Regions from separate parts of the Homo sapiens genome. Here region 2 is linked to region 1. Evidence: promoter capture Hi-C in human tissues and cell types (Jung and others, 2019). All regions are on one chromosome and are shown on one strand. Each heading gives the region's core, a stretch centred on a gene start or on the middle of the fragment in contact. The rest is flanking DNA. Distances are from core to core; before and after follow the strand shown.

Region 1 (3,185 bases), core at 121-2,620:
CTGCACTGGATGGATCAGCTGACACCACTCAGACCGTGTGTGATCTGGCTCAACCAGTTCTGCGATCCCACCCAGGAACAGAAGACTGCAAGAAAACGTTACTTCAACCCCCCTGTGATCCCATCTGCAACCTGACCAATCAGCACTCCCCAAGTCCCAAGCCCCTATCTGCCAAATTATCTTTAAAAACTCCCAGAGGCAGGGTGCAGTGGTTCAACGCCTGTAATCCCAGCACTTTAGGTGGATCACGAGATCAAGAGATCAAGACCAGCCTGGCCAACATGGTGAAACCCCGTCTCTACTAAAAATACAAAAATTAGCTGGGTGTGGCGGCGCGTGCCTGTAATCCCAGCTACCCAGGAGGCTGAGGCAGGAGAATCGCTTGAACCCGTGAGGCAGAGGTTGCAGTGAGCCAAGACCATGCCACTGCATTTCAGCCTGGGCGACAGAGGGAGACTCCGTCTGAACAAACAAACAAACAAACAACTCCCGGAATGCTTGGGGAGACTGATTTGAGTACTGGAATCCCAGTACTTTAGGAGGCCAAGGTAGGTGGATCATTTGAGGTCAGGAGTTCCAGACCAGCCTGGCCAACATGGTGAAACCCCGTCTCTACTAAAATTAGAAAAATTAGCCGGGTGTGGTGGTGGGCGCCTGTAATCCCAGCACTTTGGGAAGCCAAGGCAGGTGAATTATCTGAGGTCGGGAGTTTAAGGCCAGCCTTAAACTGGCGAAACCCCGCCTCTACTAAAAATACAAAAATTATCTGGGCATGGTGGCATGTGCCTGTAATCCCAGCTACTCGGGAGGCTGAGGCAGGAGAATCGCTTGAACCCGGGAGGCGGAGGTTGCAGTGAGCCGAGATCACGCTATTGCACTCCGGCCTGGGCAACAGAGCGAGACTCCGTCTCAAACAAACAAACAAAGGAACGAAAACCTCCGGTCTCCGGCACGGCAAGCTCTGCGTGAATTACTTTCTCCATTGCAACTCCCCTGTCTTGATAAATGGGCTCTGTCTAAGCAGCGGGCAAGGTGAACTCGTTGGGCTGTTACAGGACCAGTGACAGACCAAGGGCATGCCACTGAAGGAATCCCTAGACGCACCCTTCTGGATGTGAGACAGGCGGATCTCACCCACGCCTGCCAGCAGCTCCTCGGAGAACTGTGTTCCTGGGTCAGCCCTGGCCCAGAGGAGCGCCGGGGACCCGCAGAGTGCTGCTGAAGTCAAGGCTACAACTCACCTAGGATCTGGGGCGCCAGCCCTCCGGTGGGCAGGGCGTTCTCCTCCCCCACCCCCTCCCCGCACGATGACATCAAGTGTTTGGCGTTGAGTTGCTCCATAAAAGCTGCCCGGGGAAGCCAGGAGAGCGAAGGGCGGACGTACTCGCCACGGCACCCAGGCTGCGCGCACGCGGTCCCGGTGTGCAGCTGGAGAGCGAGCGGCCACCGGGAGCCCCCGGCACAGCCCGCGCCCGCCCCGCAGGAGCCCGCGAAGATGCCCCGGCGCAGCCTGCACGCGGCGGCCGTGCTCCTGCTGGTGATCTTAAAGGAACAGCCTTCCAGCCCGGCCCCAGTGAACGGTAAAGTTTCCGCCTGCTTCTTTCCTAACACTCCTGAGCGCTCAGCCGCCCCTGGGCTGAAGGCTCTTCAATGATAAAGTAAAATCATTGCTGCGGGGAGCAGGGAAGGTGTAGTACCAAATAGTAGATTCTCAAGAAAGGATGCTCCGTTTTCCTTTGCTGAGGTTGGGTCGGGAAGCACGTTGCTTTCTAGTGGCGCTTGGCGCAGATTTGGTGTTAAAATGTTTGCGTGTACTCCCGGGCACCGCCAGCTCTGAAGATGTGGCTTGGGAACTTGCTAACCAGGGAGGAGATGCAAAGCCAAGATTTAAAACAGCGTTCCCCTGATCCACGTTTAGAAAGTAGAGACATGACTGTGGCATTCTGATTGGGGTAAGCACAGAGAAAGGTTTGCTGTGCCCCTGTGCAGAACCCGCAGACAGTGGTAGGCGCTTTTCTTTGGAGGAGAGGATCTTTACCATTAAGTCTTACCTACAAGTCAAAGGGATGATGCATCCCATTCTTAATCATTGTTTTTCTCCAGGAGGGCTCTACTATGCTGAATGTACGTGTGTGTGCACGTACACACACACACGCACGCGCGCACGCACACAAACCACACACACACACACACACACACACACAGCATATTTCTGATTGTAATTAGAACACTAAATCCCAAAAGGCTGGAGGCTGAGGGACTGAATGGAGGCTCCGTGGAGTGACAGGAGGAGGTGGCAGAGGGGACCTGAACTGTGGGCTCACGCCGGGCCAGTGAGCTAACACGTGTACAGCCAAGGCTGGTTCATTAATCTTTTGGAATAAGAAAGTGATTTTGGACCGAAAGTGATTTTACTGGCTGAAACTAGATTCTTCCTGGCGAGGCAGTGGTGGTGGGAAATGTGTCCTGCTCAGCAGCATAAAAGCTCTGAGCCTCCTCTCTTGGAGGTCACAGTGCCCATGGGGAAGGGCAGGGGAGCCAGGCTGTGGATAACTCTTAATTAAATTCCAGTCAACTAGCTGGCATGATGTGCTTGATATTATCTCCCTCATCTGGTCAGGGAGAAACAGAAGCGATGTAACAGAAGTTGGGAGAAAGGAGCGATGTAAAAGTGAAAATCAAGTTTTAAAACCACAAACTTTACATGTTTCCTTTTACGAAAGCTGCACTGAGACCAAAGTTTCCCTGGAAATCTCTTTAGTCCTAAGTTGCTCCAAGACCAAAGGGAGAAACAGCCATTAGTTGGCCCTCTTTCCTATAGCTGGTTGCTCCTCTCACTCTGGGGCAGCTCTGCCTCCCTTCTCTCTCTTTTCCTGCCCTTCCCTGTTCTCTTCCCTCCCTCCCCTTCCTTTCTTCCCTACTTTCCCTGCTCTTCCTCTTCCCTCTCCCTTTCCCTCCTCCTTATCTCCTCTCCCAATTCTCCAAGTTGGGACTGGGGAAGTTTGTAGTCAAAACTCCACTTTCGCCTCACTCTGAGGAAGGAGACTGCCTACCCCTGGGTAGAGCACAGCTTTTATTCTGTAAATTCTCATGCAGTTTCCTTGGGTTTTTAACTGCCTTAGAGGACAGGTCAAAGCAAAAATCACTGAGGTGTAGAATGTCAGCATGAACCCAAAGTTGGAGGT
Region 2 (3,468 bases), core at 243-2,742, 540 kb after region 1:
TTGTGCTCTGCTTGGGGTGGAAGGTGTTCAGATAAAAATGCCTGGTGGAGTATCTCGGAACCACAGAACTACCTGTGAACGCTGTGGTTTTAAACCCAGGATAGAGCTGTGGTCTGAAAACAGGGTTTTGGAGACACTCAGTGGGAATAAAGTAAAGCAAGGCTCTCTGTGACTGCATGATACAGAACAAGCTCGGTAGCACGGGCTCACTCAGTGGTCTCAGAATGTCTTCTTCTTCCCCTCACCAGACATGTGCAGACTTGGCCTCTCCTGCAGCCCCCACCAGCCCCTATGGTCTCTTTCCCTACTCGCCCAGGAGCCCCCAGCACATCCCAGGTTCTGCCATATGCACACAGTTCCGTCTGCCCCCAGCTCCCTCTCCCTGTGTCTGCCTGCTTAATATCTATCCCACTAGCCAGGTCTGACTGAGGTTCTCCCTATGCTCTTGATTTAAAAAAAAAAAAAAAGCTTTGGAAACAAATTGGAATTTCAATCCTTGCTTTGCCACTCACTAGCTGGGTGATCTTAACATAGTGGTTGGGAGATCCCCGTTCTGCTAGCTGTGTGGCCTTGGGCAAGTTACCTAACCTCTCTGTGCCTCAGCCTTGCTGGCTATAAAATGGAGATAAGAGCACCCATGCGTTGTACAGGGTATAGTTGTGAGGATTAAATAAAGGTGATAATGGTGCGTGTCTGGCACGTGGTAGGTGTAGGGTAGGTGTTAGCTAACTTAGAGATGGAACGCGGCTCCCCCATCCTACCTCTGGCAGCAGCCCCTCCCACTACAGCATCTCCCACTGGGCAGCTCTGTGGCCCAGCTCACCCTGCTTTGAATTTTTTTTACCTTGGAACCGAATTCATTCTCCAGTTGCTGACCTTTGTTAGTGCATCTCCTGTTTCCATCATGCATTTTCCCTGCACAGAATCTCTCTCCTGATCTCCTGCAGAGTGATTCATCTTATGACTGGACCTGAAGTGCCCTCCCTGACACAAGGCCCCTCACGGTGTGCTCCTGGCTGCCTCCTTGCCGGCCTCAGGGAATTGTTCACCTCCTTAAGCAACTGCCTCTTCAGAAACCCAGGCCTACCTAAGTGCGGTTCCTGCAGCCTGGAGTGCCACCCCCATCCCTTCTCTGCTGGGGAACTCCTATTTATTAGGAGTCGGGCCAAATGTCCTCCTCTTGGAAATCCTTCCCAGCTTCAGGGCTCTGCCCTTTACTCCCACACCCTTGGGTCAATGTTTGCCCTCCCTGGACTGTGACCTCCTCCAGGAATTAGGCTCGGGTCCCCAGAGTCCTACACACAGCAGGGGCTGGGGCACTTCTAAGTTAAGGTCGTAGTTGATGGGTCAGCCTGATTGAGCTGCGTGTGCAGAGGATCTGAACTCCTGCAGACACCACTTCTGCATGAGTCTTGGTTTGCCGCTCTGCAAAATGGCCACACCACCTTCCCCACAGCTGCGGAGGGCTGGGCTCTGGGTGTCCAGCAGCACCGAGCTGACACCCAGGAGGCTCATTAAGTCAGTCAGTCCTCTCACCCCTTCCTGGTCGGCTCAGGCTTCCCACATTCATTTTGGGTGTGGTCAGCTCCAATCTCATTTTTGTTGTTCTTGTTAATCAAAGATATAAAAACCTTCATTATCAACTGGCTTAGAGATCCTAAATCATCCTTTCAAGCGTGAAAAAAAATCTTTCTTATTGGTTGTTAGACATACCAGTGACTCTCTTCGTTGCGATGGTGATTCTTTGACACCCCCTCTTGCAGATTAGAAATGCCTCACACTTTTCTAAGTCTGGCTGCCCCGCCACAAACAAGGACTTCTGGCCCCCAGCAATTCCCAGTCCAAACAGGAAGGAGGGCCTGGCAGTCTCCGGGGGTTGCAGTTGTGGCCTCAGCTGTCAGAAGTGAACCTAACCTTCCTGTGCCAGGACCTGGGTCAAGATTGGAGATGATCCCATATGCACTTCTGTATTCAGCTGTGCGGTCTTCTGACAGAGGCGGTATGTAAAGCCAAAAAGCCCCCTAGCTACTTGTCCAGGACGCCTGCTCCTGGAGTTTCTCCAAGTTAACTCTTGTCAGCAAAGCTACATGAAATTCTGTGGCACCCTGTGGCTCTGCGTCTGTCACTCACTCACACACACGTGCTCTCTCCTGACATACCTCTGGTAACTATGGAGCTAGTCCTCAAGGTGGAATTTTACTCTCATGATAAAGACAGTCTCTTCCCCCTTCTTTTCCATCTTCCTCCCATTCCCATGAGTCCTCCACACAGGTTTGTTCCTTTAAAGGTTTATTTCTGGCAAATAAAAAAAAATAACTTATGTGGTTAGATAAATTAATGTATGTGATTAGATACGACACAGGGCAGAGCTGAACGTTCCTGTTTTCTTCTGGATCTTGAAGGTTGGTGAGAGGCCGCTGAATGAGACCCAGCCTCGTGTTTTGTGGGATGAAGAGATGCAGACAAAGTGACTCAGGTACACTGATGCTCCCTGGAGGGCTGGGAGGTGGGCTCAGAGGAAGAGGCCGAATCCAAACCTTTTTTATTGAAAAGAAATAGCTCTTGTTTGTAGCATTTAAAAGAATCAACCCAAACTCTGCACACACTCATCCGTAGTGACCATAAACATGACATACCAAGCAGAGGCTCAGAAAGATGGAGCAACAGACTGAGGACATTTTCAACATGGTACTTGGGGATACCTTTGGGAAAGATGCCTTCCCCAGCAGAGGCCAGCACTGTGGAGAGATAGGACCAGAGCCACTACTGGCACAGTTGTCAAGATCTTTTGCTTTCTGAACTCTGGGGACCGCTGCCTTTTAGCCTGAGGGGAATGTCTCCAAATTTCTTGGGTTGGTAAGTCTCAGAAGCAGCCAGCCCCTTGGTCAACAGAGGGTACCTTTCCTCCAGGAATCTGAGAATGGAACATGCTGATAGTCTGTGCTGAGATCTTAAGGCCAGCATCCCAGAGGCCTTTCCAGAGCCCAGAACCTCAAAGCTGGGAGAGAAGATTCTGGGGACTATCTGCCAGGGAGGAAACCAAGGCTCCTCGGGGGTCAGCGTGTGAGTTCCCCAGGAGCAGAGACCATGGCTTGCTCACCACTTTTGACCTGTGTCTGGTTCCTTGATGAGGTTTTGGCCTTGGCATCACTTTGGAGGTGGGGTTTACTCTCTTAGGCTATGGTGAATTTTGGTTATAATTTTTTGATAAATTAGGAACAGGCTTTAGTTGCCTGTAAACACACTGACTAAGACAGCCAGAAAGCAAGCAGGTGAGAATCAGAAGAAGCTCGAAGGGTTTTCCCTGATAAAAGCATATGCCGTGAGGCTACAGGCAGCTCATTTCTTAAGGCCCGTGCATAGACTGCAGGCTGGGCAGCTGCCTCTGCAGCCGACCTGGAGGGACTGTGTTGACCGACTGCAGGGCCAACCAGGAATTGAGGAACCTGCCTGCACAGATGGCCAGGG

Evidence for each region. The method cuts DNA at HindIII sites, captures the fragments that hold promoters and counts their contacts. A contact is called where the count stands out against the background at its distance.
Region 2: a fragment that was not itself captured here is called in contact with the fragment with the promoter of CA12 in region 1 in 1 of the 25 tissues and cell types used here (lymphoblastoid cells).

What each region holds. Positions count from the first base shown.
Region 1 is chr15:63,380,031-63,383,215 of GRCh38, reverse strand. CA12 (carbonic anhydrase 12) reads left to right here and starts at 1,370. Exons shown (of 11, transcript NM_001218.5): 1 at 1,370-1,580. The coding sequence starts at 1,496. RefSeq lists enhancers at 646-1,165, 1,166-1,686. The HindIII fragment of the contact is 12,151 bases long and covers 1-3,185 here.
Region 2 is chr15:62,843,436-62,846,903 of GRCh38, reverse strand. It overlaps TLN2 (talin 2), which reads right to left. Exons shown (of 59, transcript NM_015059.3): 59 at 2,273-3,468. LOC105370854 (a long non-coding RNA gene) reads left to right here. Exons shown (of 7, transcript XR_007064671.1): 3 at 1,764-1,999; 4 at 2,403-3,468. Among named protein-coding and RNA genes, the nearest start is that of MIR190A, 21 kb to the right of the region's middle. RefSeq lists enhancers at 1-336, 1,018-1,518. The HindIII fragment of the contact is 9,285 bases long and covers 1-3,468 here.